3 separate regions of the Homo sapiens genome follow, and regions 1 and 2 are each linked to region 3. Evidence: promoter capture Hi-C in human tissues and cell types (Jung and others, 2019). All regions are on one chromosome and are shown on one strand. Each heading gives the region's core, a stretch centred on a gene start or on the middle of the fragment in contact. The rest is flanking DNA. Distances are from core to core; before and after follow the strand shown.

What was found. Contacts are between HindIII fragments. The study calls those that stand out against the background at their distance.
Region 1: a fragment that was not itself captured here is called in contact with the fragment with the promoter of NDUFA7 in region 3 in 7 of the 25 tissues and cell types used here (aorta, bladder, dorsolateral prefrontal cortex and 4 more).
Region 2: a contact is called between a fragment that was not itself captured here and the fragment with the promoter of NDUFA7 in region 3, in 3 of the 25 tissues and cell types used here (dorsolateral prefrontal cortex, mesenchymal stem cells and pancreas).

Annotation. Positions count from the first base shown.
Region 1 is chr19:8,481,657-8,486,431 of GRCh38, reverse strand. HNRNPM (heterogeneous nuclear ribonucleoprotein M) reads right to left here. Exons shown (of 16, transcript NM_005968.5): 13 at 3,221-3,274; 14 at 27-829. Among named protein-coding and RNA genes, the nearest start is that of PRAM1, 19 kb to the left of the region's middle. The HindIII fragment of the contact is 4,267 bases long and covers 611-4,775 here.
Region 2 is chr19:8,464,578-8,468,744 of GRCh38, reverse strand. HNRNPM (heterogeneous nuclear ribonucleoprotein M) reads right to left here. Exons shown (of 16, transcript NM_005968.5): 6 at 3,230-3,421; 7 at 2,357-2,510; 8 at 1,161-1,210. Among named protein-coding and RNA genes, the nearest start is that of HNRNPM, 22 kb to the right of the region's middle. The HindIII fragment of the contact is 3,658 bases long and covers 1-3,423 here.
Region 3 is chr19:8,320,118-8,324,288 of GRCh38, reverse strand. It overlaps NDUFA7 (NADH:ubiquinone oxidoreductase subunit A7), which reads left to right and starts at 2,914. Exons shown (of 4, transcript NM_005001.5): 1 at 2,914-2,981; 2 at 3,383-3,432. The coding sequence starts at 2,931. It overlaps RPS28 (ribosomal protein S28), which reads right to left and starts at 2,793. Exons shown (of 4, transcript NM_001031.5): 1 at 2,720-2,793; 2 at 2,586-2,633; 3 at 2,198-2,336; 4 at 949-2,017. The coding sequence starts at 2,758. The coding sequence ends at 2,214. KANK3 (KN motif and ankyrin repeat domains 3) reads left to right here. Exons shown (of 11, transcript NM_198471.3): 11 at 1,367-1,705. The coding sequence ends at 1,450. RefSeq lists enhancers at 925-1,890, 1,891-2,858, 2,765-3,004, 2,859-3,826, 3,827-4,171. The HindIII fragment of the contact is 5,252 bases long and covers 1,409-4,171 here.

The sequences.
Region 1 (4,775 bases), core at 1,495-3,994, 160 kb before region 3:
CAAGAAGTTCCCCAAGAGCCACTTACATTTCTCACAAATATCTGGCAGGCCTTCCTGGCCACCCCAGGAGCATGGCCTCCAGCTCCACCAAAGGAACCTGCGAAGCTTCCTCCGAAGTTGCCACGCTCCATCTCGATGGCACGGTCAAAGCTGGCACCGCCACCGCCACCCATGGCCAGGCCCATGCGCTCAATGCCAGCGCCCAGGGCCGGGCCCATGGCAGGGCCCATGCGCTCGAGGCTGTTGGCACCCATGCGCTCCAGGCCCATGCGCTCGAGGCTGTTGGCGCCCATGCGCTCCAGGCCCATCCGCTCCAGATTGTTGGCGCCCATGCGCTCCAGGCCGGTGGCCATGCGATCCATCACGGGGCCCATGCGCTCCAGGCCAGCTCCCATACCTGCGGGCACCATGCGCTCCATGCTCAGGCCCATGCGCTCGATGGCAGGGCCCATGCGCTCCACGCCAGAGCCCATGCGCTCAATGGTCTGGCCCACACGGTCGATGGGAGCGGCCATGCGCTCAAGGCCGAAGCCCATGCCGGCACCCATGCGCTCCACGCCAGAGCCAATGCGCTCCATGGTCTGGCCCATGCGCTCAATGCTGGAGGCCATGTGGTCGAGGCCCAGCGGGCCCATGCGCTCAATGCCGGAGCCCATGCGCTCCACGGAGCCCATGCGGTCCATGACCAGGCCCATGCGCTCGATCTCGGAGCCCACGCGATCCATGCCGTGGCCCAGGCCCGCGCCCATGCGCTCCATGCCGGCACCCCCGAGGCGGTCAATGCCAGGACCCATCCTCTCGATCCCAGGGACGCTTCCTCCACCTCCACCTGAAACAGGGACACAAAACACAGGTGGGTGTCAAGAACTTGAGTGTGCGTGTGCACAACACGCCAGACCACTTCAGCTCATGGGCATGGATCAGGGGTAAAGGCCCACCATAATTTACCATTAAGACACCCCTCAAATGTTGACAACAGCTACAGCTGTGTGGTGGGCACATGGGGGCCTCCCAGCATTCTCTCTGCTCTATGCCACAGCTGAGATTTCCATAACACAACTTCTAAAGAACACCCCTGTATGTGTGTCTGTGAGGTGCTAGTGTCTGTGACAAGCTTTGTGAACCATGGACGTCAATTCCTGAGACATCTGAGGTTTCTCCATCAGCAGACACTGAGAAATGCTCCAGGGGGAGGCATGGACACCCCCCACTCGGGGGGCCACCCAGGGTAATGAACAGGAGTTATGTGGAGACAAGTCGGAGTCACTCCCACCTTCCCCTCCCAGCCTGTCCCTCTAGGATGCTCTGCTGGGGGCCACTCTGGCTGCATTTCCTCAGCGCTCCCAGGGCACAGAGAAAGGATTTTCGGCCACACCATCAAGCAGAGGTCAAAAAAACACACACCGAGAGATCCTCTGTGTACAAATGCACACAGCTGGCCACTTTTGGGGACCCTATTGTCAGGGAAACCAAATGACTTGCTGGCTTTGGAAAGAAGATGTTGATGGCACTGCAGAGTGGGCTCTGGTAGCGGCTGGGGGTCAGTCAGCAGAACGAAGGGACGCCCCCACCCGTGGTGCTTGCAACTCTGGAAAGCAGGGTCTGGCTCCGTCAGCAAGGCCACCCCTTTCCACATGCCGAGTTTGGGGCTCCTCCCCGAAACCCTGTCGCTTGCCTCTGAGAGTGGCCATCAGCCCAGAGCCAGCCTGTGACCGACCCAAGCAGCCTAGTCAAAGATACCAATTCAAGAGGAAACTGGGCAGTTTCTCTAACTGGCTCTGTAACTGGCCACACCGCGCCTGCTTCTCTAGCTGCACAGCACACAGTGAGCGGCCAAAGCAGGCCCGACTCTAAGAATGTGTGACTTTCAGAGGGGAGACGTCTCAGAACTTCCCCACAGTATAAGGAACCTAGCGAGAATGGGCACTTTGCCCAAAGGCATCAGAAATGAGGTGGGGCAGCTGGGTGTGGTGGCTCATGCCTGTAATCCCAGTACTTTGGGAGGCCAAGGCGGGCGGAACAAGGTCAGGAGTTCGCGACCAGCCTGGCCAACATGGTGAAACCCCATCTCTACTAAAATTGCAAAAATTAGCTGGGTATGGTGGCGTGCGCCCGTAGTCCCAGCTACTTGGGAGGCTGAGGCAGGAGAATCGCTTGAACCCAGGAGACGGAGGTCACAGTGAGCCGAGATCGTGCCACTGCACTCTAGCCTGGGCGACAGAGTGAGACTCCGTCTCTCAAAAAAAAAAAAAAAAAAAGAAATGGGAGGAAATGGTACCAGCGTGGAGCTCCAGAGCCAGCCCAACACAGAAGTCAGGAGGTGAGATGCCAAGATACTCAGAGGGAAAATCAGGCTGAAAAAGTACATTTGGGCCAGGTGTGGTGGCTCACATCTGTCATCCCAGCACTCTGGAGGTATGCAGGTCACTTGAGGCCAGGAGTTTGAGATAAGCCTGGGTAACATGTCAAAATGCCATCTCTACAAAAAAAATCAAAAAATTAGCCAAACCAGGTGGCACACGCCTGTAGTCCCAGCTACTTGGGAGGCTAAAGTGGGAGAATCGCTTAGGCCTGGGAAGTTGAGGCCGCAGTGAGCAGAGACTGCACCACGGCACTCCAGCCTGGGAGACAGAGCGAGACTGTCTCCAAAAATGCTCAAAAAGTACATTTTGTTCTCAGTATCCATAAAGCTGTGTATGAATGAAAGATTCAGAACAAAATGTTTCCGGCAGTCATCACTGGGCGATGGGGTTTCAGACCATACTTTCTTCATATTTTCCTAATGAGTACATTTATCTATTTTACAAGCATTTATTACTTGTTGGGTGGTGTGCTTTCAGTCTTATCATCAAGTCTAAGGAAAATATATTTACTTTTAGGAATTTATAATGTGGAAAACAAAACCCCCAAAAGAGAGGTACTCTAACAATGAAGATGGTCGGCCTGTGCACAGCACGTGCGGAAGCACTCTTTCACATGCATTCACTCTCCACAGCATCCCTGAGGCAGGTACTATTACACCCCCATTTTACAAATGAGTGCTATGAGAAACAGAGAGGTTCAGTGACTTGCCAAACGTCACACAGCTAGAAAAAGGCAGAGCTGCTCCCACCCCGGGCAGTCTGTGTCAGAACCCGCACTTCTCACCACTAAGCTCTACAGTCCCCAGCGATAACAGCCTGTTCTAAAAAAACAAAACATCAAACTAAGCGGTTCCTACCTCCTCCCTGCTTTGCAATGATCTCTCCTCTCTTCAGTGCATTACTTAGGATTTCTAAGGAAATCAGGAAGAAAAAAAAATTAGCCAAATTCCTCTATGGCAATAGAAATGTGCTCATTACAGATTCCAGAGTAGAAATACTACTAATAAAAATGACAAGATAAAGGGAAAGGGGTTTGAGAAACACACGCACAGACAAGATCATTTTACAGAGAACTAGGAGAGTCCTTGATGCTGGGTCACGATGCCAAGACCCCACGTAGCTCCAGAGTCTGAGGCCCAGCGTGCGGGGTCACCTGCGAATGCGCCCAGCAGAGATAGGAGTCATATGCATTCATGAACTGAGAGCCAGAGCAAGAAGAGGGCCATCGGGTCTCGCTCAGCGGCAGTTTTCTAAAGCTGGTCCAGGCTCTCAGGACTGAGGCTTCCTTGCCTCCCCTGAGCTGGAAAGTAAGCCCCCACCCCCACCCCAGCCAACTTCTTGTTCAGAAGACCGCCCAGCATCACCCACTTGGAGCCCACATTTATCCACCCAGAGGCACCTCTCATTATCATAGAGCAAATTAAAGCTGCAGCTCCACGGACAACCTCAACGCTAACAAATGAGCTCTGCGCGGAAATCCTTGAGCATGCCAGCCTTGCCTGAAATGAGCTGGGTGTGCTGTGACTAGGCAACAGATAAGGTTTCAGGAAAATACCTAAATTGCACCCCCCACCAAGTATCCCAAACACAGTGCTGCTGCTCACTTGCCCACGGTGCACCCACACCTCTTTAAGGTTTGTCTGATGCTATCATAGCATTACCTTTCCAAGCTTCTGGTCCATCTTTTGCTATGTAGAAGACACTTGTACCCACCCGCTCTGGTCTCAAAGTATATGCTCAGCAACTTGGACATTAGCCACGAGGCACATTTCGCTTTATGACCACGGCCACAAAGCCATTAAAACCTGTCCCCCGGCCGCGCAGTAGCTCATGCCTGTAATCCCAGCACTTTGGGAGGCCAAGGCGGGTGGATCACCTGAGGTCAGGATCAGCCTGGCCAACATGGTGAAACCCCGTCTCTACTAAAAATTAGCCGGGTATGATGGCAGGTGCCTGTAATCCCAGTTACTCAGGAGGCTGAGGCGGGAGAATCGCTTGAACCCTGGAGGCAGAGGTTGCAGTGAGCCGAGATCGTGCCACTGCACCCCAGCCTGGGCAAGAGTGAGACTCTGTCTCTAAGAAAAAAAAAAAAAAAAAAAAAGACACCAAACAACAACAACAACAAAAGCACCTGCACCCCACACAGCTGCTTCTTATATCCCAACTAACTGCTGTGGGACAAGGTGGGAAAGTTCACCAAGAGACACAGACTTCAGTCTACCAGCAGGTACAGCTCATTCTCCCGGGACGCCTGCGATCCTGCCCGGCATGCCTGAGCCGAGGCTGGCTTTCCAGCACCTAGACCAAGCTTGTCCAACACGTCTTACTTTGCTTTGTTCTGTTTTAGGCTTTTTGGCAGCCTGAAACCATGGTTTTTAAGTTTCTGTCTCTAGTAATAAGTGGAAAAGAGGG
Region 2 (4,167 bases), core at 345-2,844, 150 kb before region 3:
AGTATCCAGTGCAGCAGTGTTTGCAACAGCAAAAGACTGAAATGGCCCCCCATCAAGAGAGGACCAGCTAAACACATTATCCACGCCATGGAGTAATACGCAAGGGTAGAAAGGCATGCGGAGCATGCTTCCTATTTTATGTCAAGGGAAAAGACACATGGATATTATTGTGGGGGATGATGGGGACCTGGGCAAGAAGTCCAAGTAGGACTCACACTATCTTCACACTACCTTTTCATGCCTTTTGACTTTTGAGTCACGTGAATCTATCATCTATTCAAAAAACTTACCTACTCTATTTAGAGTAATGAAAAAATTGCTTTATAGTTTATCTTTTTCCTGAATTTGAGTCCCAACTAGACTGCCCTCAGCATGTTCCAGTCATGCCTGTAGTAATTATTATCTTTGGCACAGTTACGGCAGAGCAAATGTTTATTAAGATTGAAGTGCTCCAACAGACCTTTAAAAGCTGTCTGAATCAATGACTTAATTATGTTCACAACAGATTTGATGCTAACCAAACATTATACTGTAATACTTTGAAAAACTGGAACCCCACATATATAACCATTCTTTGAAACGGATCACTTGCTCAACCAGGATACCCAGGTGACTTCCTGAATGCGCCATGAACAGTCAACTGTGCAAAAGGAAAAATATCTAATGCAGTCAAGAGCTGCCATGAGCAAAATGTTTTTTTTTCTTCTTTTTTTTTCTTGAGACAGAGTCTCACTCTGTTGCCCAGGCTGGAGTGCAGTGGCACGATCTCGGCTCACTGCAGCCTCTGCCTCCCACGTTCAAGTGATTCTCCTGCCTCAGCCTCCCGAGTAGCTGGACTACAGGCGCGTGCCACCACGCCCGGCTAATTTTTGTATTTTTAGTAGAGACGGAGGAGTTCCACCACGTTGGTCAGGCTGGTGTCGAACTGCTGACCTCATGATCCGCCTGCCTCAGACTCCCAAAGTGCTGGGATTACAGGCGTGAACCACCACGCCTGACCAGCAAAATGTTATTTCTCTCACAATTTTGCTCAACATACTGCACCCTATTTAACTTAGACTAATCCACAAATATTTCATAGTGGCTATATGTACACTCTTATTAATTCCATGTTTTTGCTAGACTTGAGTATATCACAGAGAAAGATCCTACTGACTTACCATCTTGACGTGCATTGGTCTATCAAATAGCAGCTGGCCATTGAACATAGCTGGTATTACAATTAAGGCTATTTCTTGCAATTCTAAAAATGTGCACAAGAGAAATACAAAAAGAAAGAAAAATACTCCAACTGCTACCAGTCCCTCTAAGTGATGAATTTATGAGCAATTTCAATTCTTCATTATACTTTCAACAATAAACATAAAAGGAACAATAAATAAAGCTGGCGGGGAGGACAAGACAACTTCCGCTTATTCCTTAGGTGTGAAGCTTCATTCGTAACCTTACAATTTCACCAAACCATCCTCTTAAGCAGTGGCATCAAGGTTCTCTGAATGTGACCAATGGGCCAGGCATCTACCACTATCTAAACTGAAGGACCATGTTTTCTGGGTAAGACATGCAGTGACGGTCTTGTCTGAGTTGTATGAATGTGCTCCTGTGGGGTACTCTCCAAGGGATTAAAAACTCTAGGCTAAGCCTAGGGTCAAGGAGAAGTGGCCTCTTCCAAAATGATGTCTACTCACTGGAAAGAGTGAGGTCCTATAAGGATGTATTACACATGAAACAACAACCCCACTTTCTCTCTAGTAGCACATTCTTTGGACTTCCTCCTTCAAACCTAGACTCTTCTGAAAAGAAAACAGTAGAAAGACTCATGGGCATATGCCCATGTTGTAACCATCCCCTCTATCCACACTGTATTGAATCAATTCCACCCCCAGAGAACCTTTTTTTTTTTTTTTTTTTTTTTTGAGACTGAGTCTCACTCTATCACCCAGGCTGGTGGTGTGCAGTGGCGCAATCTCGGCTCACTGCAACCTCCACCTCCCGGGTTCAAGCGATTCTTGTGCCTCAGCCTCCCGAGTAGCTGGGATTACAGGCACCCACCACTGCGCCCAGCTAATTTTTGCATTTTTTAGTAGAGCCGGGGTTTCACCATGTTGGCCAGGCTGGTCTCGAACTGACCTCAAGTGATCCGCCCGCCTTGGCCTCCCGAAGTGCTGGGATTACAGGCGTGAGCCACCGTGACCGGTCCGGCCCAGAGAACCTCTTAATTCCACAGTAATGCACTCCCCCTAGTCACATAAAAAACATGAATACACACAGTCACCTCTTCCTCACACAAACCTACATTACTAACACAGCAATTTAGGTCAAACTGTTCATAAGTTGAATTCCTGCAGAAGGATACATATAGCTTGCACAGCTTCAATGGACTGTTCAAAAGTAACAGTGCCTATTCCACGACTTTTTCCATCTTTATCTTCAAGAATGTCTGCTCGGACCACCACACCAGCCATACTAAATACTTCCTTCAGTTTCTTCCAGCCAACTTTATAATCCAGCTAATCGAGAGAGAACGGGGTAAAAACCTCAATGTAAACATCTTAAGAAACACAACATTTTTACTACATGAATGATACATGCTTTGGTTGGAAAAAAGTATTAGGAAATAATGTCACAAAAACTAATCAACTGCAATGGAAATTTTAAAATAGGATTATAAAGCCTGGCCTTCACTGTAAATAAACTGTACCTATAGTAAATATATTGTCTCTTTTCTCAGAAACTTAAGTCACCTCATACTTCAAATTAATACTCATTTTCTGAACATTTTTAAAAAATTGTTTCCCTGATAAGCTTTACCACTCCCCACCCCACCCAACCTACTTTATTCTAAAAATATTTCCCCTTGCAGATGGTGGAGGTATTATCATTCACCCCAGACACAACAAGAGGAAGGTGTCAGTGCACTTCTGCTCGTACAGTCTTACTCTGCACCAAAACTGCATAAAATAAACCAACGGAGAATGCAGACTCGGTTACTGCTTGCGGAAACACCTGCGAAACTCAGGAATCACAGCCCCAACGAGACCACGGTCAAGCCTGTGACTTAGGAATGCAGACAAAGCCCGCCTATAAGGCTGATTTTTAAAGAAATCAAGAACAAAACCCTTCTTTACATTTTTCTTCTCAAATGTGAGAATTACTTTTATAACATATTGACAAGGTCATTTCATAAAGTTCTGATTTTCTACTTTAGACGATGGTTCTGTTTACTTACATTTGCTACAAATACTGTGCTTCCAAGTCTTCCAGCCTGTAATGCATGGATAATCTCATTTGGGATGTTGGGATTATTTAGGATACTGGGTGGGATAGTAATCATTCCTGGGCCACCTGGTCCCATACCCATCCCACCAGTCGTAGCCATCACCTTTTGCATTGCTCTCCTGGCATGTTCACCATCAGGATCCTAAAACAAGCACAAAAGGTGTTACGTTTAACTGACCCAGTACAACGCAAACCATGCTTGCACAGTAAATGATATTCTCAAGACTTAGAAACTGAAAGGTTGTTTGGAAAGCATCTCTCAAATCTATTAACAAGAAAGTCAAATGAACTCAACTACCAGCTTAGAAGAGTCCAGCTAAAGAAATAGGAAAGGAAGAAAAGGCATGAAGTGTAGCACTAAAAACACAGCTCTCAATTGCACTAAGTAAAAAAGAAAAGCAGGGTAGGGAGGGAAACATGATTAGCTGATATAATGTAGAACCGCCAGACTGAAATTAGAGCTTCATGGGCTTGGTATAGCTGAATCTTACTAATTCATCAATGGGGTTTTGTAACTTCTGCAAACCCCGTCAATGGCTTCCAGAAGTTTGAGAAACAGTTCTAGACCACACAAGCGCCCCCATCCTTCAAGTCCTTCAGGTGTTGGAGGCGTGTGTGTGAGGGCTGCGCAGTAAAACAACATCTGGGAAGGTCTGTGAAGCTCTGTACTGACTCTCTTCTTCAACTCTCTGTCCTGTCAATTACCACCATCAGCACTAAAAAAGACATCATAACACATGAGAGACCTTAGACCCTACCAAGCTTCACTCTGAATCTACTCATCTTCCTCCCCAAGAGAAGAGGTGAAAAGAAGTTAAGAGGGATGTTTTTTTGAGACAGAGCTTTGCTCTTACTGCCCAGGCTGGAGTTCAATGGCGCGATCTCGGC
Region 3 (4,171 bases), core at 1,665-4,164:
GAGACAGGGTCTCACTCTGTAACCCGGGTTGGGGTGTAGTGGTGTGATCAGAGCTCACTGCAGCCACAAACTCCTGAGCTCAAGGGATCCTTCTGCCTCAGCATCCTCAAGTGCTGGGATTACAGGTGTGAAACCAGAGCGCCTGGCAGGGGCTGGGATTTGATGTGAAAGCAGCAAAACCCCAGTGAGGTTGACACTACCCCAGGTCATGAGACTGAGTCCTCAAGGGGGGAAGTAACCTAAGGTCACAGAGACCTAGCTAAGACCTTTCATGCATGCCCCTGGGCTCCTGTTACCTACTGCCAGGGAGGCTCTTATCAAAGGAAAAAGGAGCCCTTTGGCATCAGGCAGGGTGGGGAAGGGGGTCCAGAGCTTCAGAACTGGAGACTGGGTGAGTTTGCAGAACACATTAACCCCCAACACCACTATACTCTGATGGCCAAGTGCCAGGATGTTTTAGCACTTTCATAATCCAAGTTATCTAATCAGCCCACTCATCCTGTACAGGTTGACCCCAATTTACCATGGCTCCACTTACCATTTTTTATTTATTTTTGAGATGGAGTCTTCCTCTGTCACCGAGGCTAGAGTGCAGTGGGGCGACTGCAGCTCACTGCAACCTCCACCTCTGGGGTTCAAGCGATTCTTCTGCCTCAGCCTCTCAAGTAGTTGGGACTACAGGCACGTGCTACCATGCCCAGCTAATTTTTTTTTTTCATTTGAAGACAAGAGTCTCGTTCTGTCACCCAGGCTGGAGTGCAGCGGCACAATCTCAGTTCACTGCAACCTCCACCTCCCAGGTTCAAGAAATTCTCCTGCCTCAGCCTCCCAAGTAGCTGGGATTACAACAGCTGTGAGCCATCGCGCCTGGCACAACTTACAATTTTTTGACTTCATGATAGCATAAAAGCAATGTGTGCTTAGTAAAAACCACACTTCAGCAGAGTATTCAATAAATTACATAAGACATTCAATACTTTATTAAAACAGGCTTCGTGTTAGACGAGTTTCCCCAACTACAGGCTAAGGCGTTCTGAACAAGCTTAAGATGGACCATGCTAAGCTGTGATGTTTGGGAGATTAGGTGTATTAAACACATTTCAACTTGCAATACTTTCAACCTATGATGTACTCACCGGAATGTAACCCATTGTAAACTGAGGAACACCTGTACTCACCCCACTGGAAGGGATGTGGGAGGAAGGTCAAGCGCCTCTTCCAGGTCAGAAGGGGCAGAGGTTGGATACAAACCAGGCAGCCTGGGTCCATGGTAAAAGAACCTCCACTAAGTGAGGCTGGGGCTGAATCCCACGTTTCCTGCCTCAAGGAGATTGCAGCAGGCCCCCCTCTTTTCCCCTCTCTCCAGAGCGAGTCACCCCCTGGCTCCCAGACAGCCACACCTGGTGAAGGAGAATGCGGTGACAATGGAGAGAACCCCCAGGTTCAGTAAGCTGCCTCGTCTGGCTCACTACACCTAGCTGTGGGGAGATCTCCTCGTCAGTCACCTCAGCCTTTGGCGCACAGAAGGGTCCAGGGTCCCCTGCTCAGAGGCTAACACTGGCCGAAGAGAAAGGCAATTTCAGTTGGGGTGACTGTGGCAGGAAGGGGCTCACTCTGGCCCCACCAAGGTGAGGTGGGGACCAAGTGATAGAGCCCTGATCCACCCACTCTCTGAAACTTCTTTGCTAATAAAACATTCCTACTACGCTTGTGTTTTGTTTGGGGTAGAGGGTGCAATCGACAAACACGACCCCCCGCCTCAAAAAGGAAAAGCTTCGTTTGGCAAGACCGCACGGCCAGGATTTCCAGAGTGCGGAGGATCGGTGACCGCCTGGGAGCCACTCAAGAAACCTGGAGAAACCCTAGTCGTATAACCCAGACAAGAACCTGAGTTAACTTGAAACACAAACGCTTTATTTAAAGGAGCATCTCAGTTACGTGTGGCGGACAAAAAAAAGGAGCAGACTGTGACAGACCATTCCCATCGGCCAAGTGGTCGAACCCGACATCCAAGACCCTGTAAACAGACCCAAACATGAGATGTTGACAGGCCCCGCAGCAATTGGCAAACTCCCGCCTCCCTCTTGTCAGTCTCTGTATGTAGACTCTGCCTCCCAAACCCTCTCACCCTGGGCTTAACGAAGCCTCCCTACCACCAACCAAAGGTCTATCAAAGGGGTGTCCTCTTTGCACCCACCAGCGAGCAGCCAAGCTCAGCGCAACCTCCGGGCTTCTCGCTCTGACTCCAAAAGGGTGAGCACGTCGCCCTCGCGCACGGGGCCTTTTACATTGCGGATGATGGATCGGCTCGTGTCGTCCATGAATTCCACGCGCACCTACGGGTCCCCACCGGAGTGGAGGAAGAAGTAAGGGCGGGCCGCGGAAAGGCACCGCGGAGTGGGAAGCAGATATGAATTCAGAGAACGTGTCGGGGCCAGAATACAGATCGTTAAAGGGAACCATCAGAACCCCGTGATGAAATGAGAATCGGCTCCCGGATTCCGGCTGGCAGGGGTTAGGGCAGGGTAGAGGTCACATCAGGGTTTAGGTCGCCGGCAGTCGGCCAAATGCCCCCACCCGATTACCTGCGTGCACTGTCCCTGAGAACCGGTCCTGCCCAGGACCTTGGTGACCTGGAGGAAAGAAGCTGGGTTCAGACCCGGCCCGTTTGGCTCCTCTAATCCCTCCCCCTGCCCCCAAATTCGGGCCCCCACCTCACCCTGGCCAGCTTGATAGGCTGCACACGGCTGGTGTCCATGATGGCGGCGCGGCGGCGGTCTGGCGGAGAGGAGTCACGTGCTTCGGGGAGAGCCTTTATAGGACGTTCTAGCACCGCCCACTCCCGTCTCGCGATACCACGCCGCGTCTTTCCCAGCAGCCCCAGCGGTGGAGACGTCACCGGCTGCGCCCTTCAGTATCGCGGACGGAAGATGGCGTCCGCCACCCGTCTCATCCAGCGGCTGCGGAACTGGGCGTCCGGGGTGCGCGGGGCGGACAGGGCTGCACCATGGGGGGCTTCGGGCTCCGTGTGTCCGGGACCCGCTCCTGCTCCTCACCTCCCTCCTAAGCCGGGACCCTTCGCTCTCCCCGAATCTCCCTGGGAACCCCCAGCTAGTCACCCCTTCAGCCCGGGACCCTCTCCTGGCCTGGGAACCACTCAGGCCTGGGATTTCCCCAGTCCCCGACCTTCTTAGCCTTGGATCTGTGGGCCCGGACTCTGGCTTTGCTCTTCACCTGCAGGACCCACATCCGTTTCCCCGAGTGTTCATCCCCTGCCTTCCCTTAAAATGCGCATCCCCGGACCATCCCTGGTCCCTTGCCCTCTCCTTTCCTCTCTCCTGGGGTGCCTTGCAGGCCGACCTCTCCTCTCCTCTTCCCACAGCATGACCTGCAGGGGAAGCTGCAGCTACGCTACCAGGAGATCTCCAAGCGGTGAGCAGGCCCCGCTCGCTGCCCAGCCTCTGGCTCTGTCCTTTCTCCACCAAAAACGAAATCTGTGTTCCTTTAGACCCCTGAAACGGAGGGCTGACATCCTGCCACCAGTCCCCTGCCAGGCTGTGGAGGCAGAGGTTTGCCTTTAACCTTGCTGAACTCCGGAGGACAGCCCTCCTGAAACAGCGAGGCCGGGCGTGCATTCTGACTGGCAATCAGGCTAGATTTGCAGTGCTCAGCGTGGCCATGTTAGTCAGTGTTATCCCCAAGCTACAGATGAAAAAAGAGGTCCAGAGAGGCGAAATCATTTGCCTCAAGTCACTCAGAAGCTAAAAAGTGGCAGCGGGGACTTGAACCCAGAAGTGTCCTGATTTCAGACTCATTTATATTAAAATATTAGTTGATATTTACAAGCCCCCGTCATGTATGACCTCAGCCTTGGGTTTAACTTTGTGAACCAGGAAAGTTCTTATCCACATTCTTTCATGGACGCCACATTCTAGGGAGAAGCATAGTAGGGAAACAAACACAGCAGGTAGTATTGTTCTGGAATGCTTTGAAGACAAAACAAAATAAGTGGAAGCTGGAGGGTGGCTACGTAAAGTCAGATGATTGGGAAAGATCTTTCTTTGGAAATTGACAGTTGAGTCCCCTGAATGATGGGAAGGACCCATTCAAAGAATAATTATTGAAAAAACATTCTGACCGGGCGCGGTGGCTCACGCTTGTGATCCCAGCA